2 separate regions of the Homo sapiens genome follow, and region 1 is linked to region 2. The links are contacts of gene promoters, found by promoter capture Hi-C in blood cells and fetal thymus (Javierre and others, 2016). All regions are on one chromosome and are shown on one strand. The core of a region is centred on a gene start or on the middle of the fragment in contact, and the rest is flanking DNA. Distances in the headings are between cores, read along the strand shown.

Region 1 (3,035 bases), core at 50-2,549, 270 kb before region 2:
AAGATATAAATGATCAAAATTGTCTTGACAAAAGGTAAAAAATCTGAAGAGGCCATGAATAAAATAATTTTAAAAGGTAGTTAAAATTAACTATACCTATCATCACCCAAGGCATGAGGCTGATAAAATTTTGTGAACGTCATCTACAAAATCTTCACGGAATCTTCTACAAAATCTTCATAGGAATCTTTCAGTTCCTATGCTATTTAAACTGGCGCAGAGCAGGAAAAAAAATGTGAAAGCTTCTTAACTCATTGTAGGTTATTTATTTATTTATATTTTTGAGATGGAGTCTCGCTCTGTTGCCCAGGCTGGAGTGCAGCGGTGCAATCTCAGCTTACTGCAACCTCTGCCTCCAGGGTTAGAGCGATTCTCCTGCCTCAGCCTCCTGAGTAGCTGAGATTACAGGCGCTCACCAACACGCCCAGCTAATTTTTGTATTTTTAGTAGAAACGGGGTTTCACCATGTTGGCCAGGCTGGTCTTGAACTCCTGACCTCAAGTGATCTGCCCGCCTCAGCCTCCCAAAATGTTGGGATTACAGGTGTGAGCTGCCACGCCCAGCCTTCACTGTAGGTCGTATTCTTTCCAGAATATGAACTGGAAACCTCCAAGCTTGTTTTTCCAGACTCTTATTAGCTCTCTATTTCTAGTTAGGTTCTGAATTGAGAGACAGTAGGGGATTCAGATGCAGGAGGAAGAAGACCTTTTCTCCAATTTGTGGAGGCAGCTCACATAGCTGAGTAGTGGTGGTGGTGGCAATGGGTGAGCCTGGCTTCCTGCTCGGGGGTGATGTGAACAGCAGCAGTAGCAGCAGCACTCAGCCCTAGCTCCAGCAGTACTAGCAGAGGCTCCAGGAACCTCAGCTGTTCAGAGCTTGTGGGCTCCCATGGCTGTTACTCTGTTGGACGCCTGCAGTGTAAGCTGGAGTATTGGCTCCTGGCTTTCTGCCTGCTGGTGGTAAAGGTGCCAATGTCAGCAGCCTCAGAGTCAATGATGGTAGCACTGGGTAAAACTATTTTCCCTTTCACGCTCCCAGCCCAGAGTTTCCCGTAGTTACTAGTCTCTGGGTAATCTCACATGTTCCCTTTTTGCTCTTAATTAACCCCTTGGATATATATGTAACCAGTTTCCTGTGTTAAATTCTCTCTCTCTTTTTTTTTTTTTTTTGAGATAGTGTCTCCCTGCGTTGCCCAGGATGGAGTCCTGTGGCACAATCTCGGTTCCACCACCACTCCTGGGGCATTTTTTTGTATTTTTATTTTGTATTTTTAGTAGAGAAGCGGGTCTCGCCACGTTGCCCAGGCTGGTCTTGAACTCCTGAGCTCAGATAATCTGCCCGTCTCGGCCTCCCAAAGTGCTGGATTACAGGGTAATTTAGCCACCAGGCCTGGCTGACACGACCACTTTGGAAGACAGTTTGTAAGTTTCTTATAAAACCAGGCCAGGCACAGTGGCTCATGCCTGTAATCCAAGCACTTTGGGAGGCCAAGGCAAGAGGATCGCTTGAGCCCAAGAGTTTGAGACCAGCCTGCTCAACATGGTGAAACCCCATCTCTGCAAAAAACAGAAAAATTAGCTGGGTGTGGTGGCACTGTGCCTGTAGTCCCAGCTGCTCGGGAGGCTGAGGTGGGAGGATCATCTGAACCCAGGGAATTTAAAGCTGCAGTGAGCCACGATTGTCTGCCATGACAGAGTGAGACCCTGTCTCAAAAAACAAAACAAAACCCCAAAAAACAAAACTAAACTTACTCTTACAATATGATCCAGCAATCATGCTTCTTGGTATCTACCCAAAGGAGTTGCGAACATGTCCACACAAAAACCTGTACACAGATGTTTGTAGGAGCTTTATTGATAATTGCCCAAACACAGAAACAACCAGAATGCCCTTTAGTTGGGGAATGAATAAACACTGTTACAGCCTGACAATGGAATATTATTCAGCACTAAAAAGAAATGAACTCTCAAGACAAGACATGGAGAAAGCTTAAATGCATATTACTATAAGGAAAGAAGCCAATCTGAAAAGGCTAGCCACTCCAAGATTCCCATTATATGCCATTCTGGAAAAGTCAAAACCATGCAGTCAGTGGAAAGATCAGCGGTTGCCAGGTGTTGTCGGAAGAAAGGGATGAACAGGAGCACTAAGGATTTTCAGGGCAGTCAAACTATTCCGCGTGATACTATAATGGTGGATCCATGTCATTATATATTTGCCAAAACCCACAGAATAAAACACCAAGAGTGAACCCTAATGCAAACTCTGAATTTTGGGTGATAATGATGTGTCAATGTAGGTTCACTGATCATAACAAAGGTACCACTTTGGTATGGGATGTTGACAGTGGAGGATGCTGTGCATGTGTGACAGTAGGGGTACATACGGGAACTCTATTTTCTGCTCAATTTTGCTGTGAACCTGAAAGTGTTCTAAAAACTAAAGTCTATTTTAAAAAATCCACTGTTTCACCTAATTCAACACTTCACTCCCACTCTGATAATCTCTGGCAACCAATGATCTGTTTACTGTCTGTATTTAAATTTAATTAAAACAATTTTTAAACTGTTTTGATATTTTTATAATAATCAATATATTTTGATTGGACTTTTATAGTGAGCACTTTCTTTGGAAATGAGTGTCTTTGACCTTCAAAAAAGTTATAGTTGTTATCAGTTATCATAAGAGGTGGGGCCCACCTCTTAAAGTAGCAATAAAATCTTATTTATGGTTGAAAAAGGTCAGGTCATTGCGCCACTTCTCTTTGCAGGTTTCTGTGCAATCCATCAGGGGACAGCTGGGACTAATCATTTAAAAAACTTTCCAGCCTGCTAATTTTACCATACCTCACATTTTTGTCATTCCTGGCCAAAATCCAAAGGGCAAGTCCCTTCTGCAGCCTCATTTTTTTTTTTTCTGTACTTTCGCTCCCCTGACGCAAGCTTCCACTGTCTCCCATCCTAACTTTACCACTACGCCCTCTAGAATGCCTTTTCCTGATAAGCAAAACCCCCCGAGTCGTTGGCTCCTCCACT
Region 2 (3,070 bases), core at 1-2,500:
CCACGGCGGCCCCGGTACCCGCGGCCTGGCCGCGCGCCGGGTCCCCACCGCGGAGTGGGAAGGAGGAGGAGAGACTGGAGGAGTTGGAGACAGACACAGCCGCGGCGCGCAGTCACGGCTGGAGACAGACGGCGGCGACGGCGGCGGGAGGCGGGACACTCCCCCCTCCGGCGACTGGAGGCGGGACACCTCCCCGGCGGCCGCAGCGCCGCGTCCCCTCTCTCCCCGCGCTGAGGCTGCGGACCGGGCCCGGCGGGATTAGCAGGCGAGTGCGTTGGCCCTGCCCGCTCCGCGCGCCGCCGCGGCCGGCCGGGGATCCCCTGCAAGCCACTGAGCCGCTGCCGCCGCTGCAGCCAGACAGGCTGCGGGTGCCTGGGAAAGTGGAAGCAGGGCGGGGAGCGCGGGGGAGGCCCGGGGGTGAGGTCCTCAGCTCTTAAAGAACCCCGGCGCGCCGCGCTCCCCGCCGGCCCGCCGCGCGCCCCCTGCCGCGCCCCGCACAGCGCCCCTCCCCCTGGCCAGCAGGGCCGGTGGCCGCGGAGCCGCACTGCGGGCAGTCCCCGCCTCCGCTCCGGGGGGGCGGCCCAGGTGAGTGCGGACCCGAGGTGGCCGCAGTGGTCGGGGCTTCTGGCCCAAGTTCACCGCTGCGCTCCGGAGGGAGGGGTGGCGGGGGACTCGGGAACCGGACGCTTTGGGAACTGGACGTCCGCGAGCCTGCGCCGTCGGCTGGGGCCGGAGGGAGAAGCTGGGCGCCGAGCGCGCGAGGTCTGTGAGGCTTGGTCCGGGTGGGCTTGCCGGTGGGCACGGCGGGGATCCGGGGCTGGCCCGCGGGCGGGGTTACGCCGGTGGAGGGACTTCGCCGACCCCCACCCCGTTTTCTGTTTCCTGGTGCCCTGGGGCGCAGGGTGTCCCGCGGTTGCAAGACTGAATTCTGCACCGCCCGGAGGCCAGGATGGGCGCGCGGATGGCAGCCCCAACTGTCTCCGCGCCCCTAGGCCTCGGCGAGCCGTGGCGGGCAGGGACTGGAGGTCAGCGGGAAGCGGGAAGATCCTGCAGGACCTGACCGGGGAGTTTGCGGGAAGGAGGGGGCGGGCCAAGCCCCGCAGCCCCTCAGTCCCGCATCCTGCACCGCGCGCTCCCCGGCCCCGGCCCCTCGGGCCCGCTTCACCCGGCGTCCCCCCGGGTCCCCCCGCGCGCGTTGACGTCGGTCGCGGGACCGCCCGGAGCTCCCGGCATTGGCTGGGAAGTCGATTGTCTGGGGCTGCTGCTGTTGCACTTAGGCTGGGTCTCCGAGCCCCGGAGGAAGCAGGCGTGTGTTGAATTTCTCTCTGCCCCTCACCTTGGAATAAACAGGAAGCGACAAGCACCCAGCCCGGCCCGGCACTTGCCTTTGTGAAGGGGTCTGCCCTGCACAGCCTTTAGGAAGCTTCCTCGGGACCCCTTCCCGGTGCGCCGCCCCGGGTGGGCCTGGGGGCGCGCCCTGTGAGTACACCGGTGGAAGACAGTGGGTTCGGTTTAGGTTAAATCGCTATCGTGGCGGAGAGGGCATTTGCTTGTTTAAACTTTTTTTTTTTTTTTTTTAATTGGAAAAGGAGAAGGTTTCCCGATGAGGCAGAGGTTTTCAGGACGACAGGGACGCATGGTGGGTGGGCGGCACTGGGGGAAGGCGCATCCGAGAGTACAGCGTTCTTGGGTCACCTACCTGGAGGGACACCTCGTCGCCAGTCAGGGCAGCTAGAAGCTCTTTAAAGCAAGCAGGACTCCTTAGCTCTGCCCAGGCACAGGAATGGTTGCTGTGTGCCCATAGCCGCATGAACTAGCATGATTTTTGTTTTTCCCCCAAAATTTTTTAATTAGCTAGAATTAGATAATTTTGATTTGCTTCTTTTCTTTTCCTCTGTGTCTTGGTCTATTCCCTTCTCTTTTTCTCTTTTCTAATTATTTTGGCATCTTCTCATCCCCGGACCAGCGCTGCTTTCTAAATGTTAATTACCATTGCAATACATATTTATTGAGGGCCTACTATGTGTTAGGCATTGTAGGATGTGAGGTAAGAGTAGCTGCACAGAATGTGGGTTCTGAGCGCTAGTATTAGTAAGTTATTTGCAGTAGAGGTGGATAGAGATGGTGAGCAGCATTGACTCTCAAAAATAGGGTCCTATGGCTGGTAAGGAGGTTGGTGCCTTCTCGAAGGGCTAGTGCTGGGAAGCTTCCTTTTAAAAACGGCCCTTTCTGCCGGTTTGGCTAGCCAAGAATGGCATCCTCCTCTCTGTATCTTCCCTGGAGCTTCAGGACTGAGTATTGAATGACAGAGAAGGTTCTGCAAAGTCTGCACAGGGAGACTGCCATTGCATCAAGTCATGTCTGCATTCTGTATATGGTATTGTCTTTTCTAGTCTTTAACTCGAGTGTGTTGTCATCTGTAACTCTCCCTTTGTACTCTGCACAATTCTTCTGGAATATAGTCTTTGTGTTCAGTCAAGGATCAGAGTGTCAAATCTGAGTCATTACATAGACAAATGAGGATGTCTGAGTATTACCCATGTATATTTATTGAATTATATTTGGTTTCCCATCAACCCTTGAAATGTTATTTGATGGACCTTTCTAAGCAGTGCTTTTTAAAACAGGGGGCTAACTTCCTTATGATCTTTGAAAGCTTAATTCTTTTTAAGAGCTTCATTTTGCTATTGACATTGAACACAGTGTTAGGAATTAGGGCTGGGAATGTAAATGCCAGTAAGGGATTTGCTGTAATGGAATTGTAGCTACCTTCCTCCCTTGTTTTAAATGACCTCTCTAATTTCTTAACATTCTGCTGTTACCCTTGGAAGGGCTTGCCATTGTTGGCCATGGTCCTGGTTCGTGTAGGTTTGTATTTACATTGGAGAAGACTCTTCCCGGCAGGTTTTTAGGGCTGTCTCTTGAATCCTCTCATGGGCTTGGTTTGCAAGACCACAATCCTGCAGTGGAACGCAGCCAGTGCCAGCTGCTTATTAAGGGATTTTGTGCCAATTTGTTGGCACATTATTTGAGACTCCTGCACCCCACCCTACTCCCACTGGAGTATATA

The links. Contacts are between HindIII fragments. The CHiCAGO score rates a contact against its expected background, and 5 or more counts as called.
Region 1: a contact is called between a fragment that was not itself captured here and the fragment with the promoter of LDLRAD4 in region 2, in 1 of 17 cell types (fetal thymus). The highest score is 7.5, in fetal thymus.

What each region holds. Positions count from the first base shown.
Region 1 is chr18:12,944,029-12,947,063 of GRCh38, forward strand. No RefSeq gene overlaps it. Among named protein-coding and RNA genes, the nearest start is that of SEH1L, 2.5 kb to the right of the region's middle. The HindIII fragment of the contact is 1,374 bases long and covers 613-1,986 here.
Region 2 is chr18:13,217,510-13,220,579 of GRCh38, forward strand. LDLRAD4 (low density lipoprotein receptor class A domain containing 4) reads left to right here and starts at 1,251. Exons shown (of 7, transcript NM_001378100.1): 1 at 1,251-1,479. RefSeq lists a silencer at 42-411. The HindIII fragment of the contact is 2,786 bases long and covers 1-1,421 here.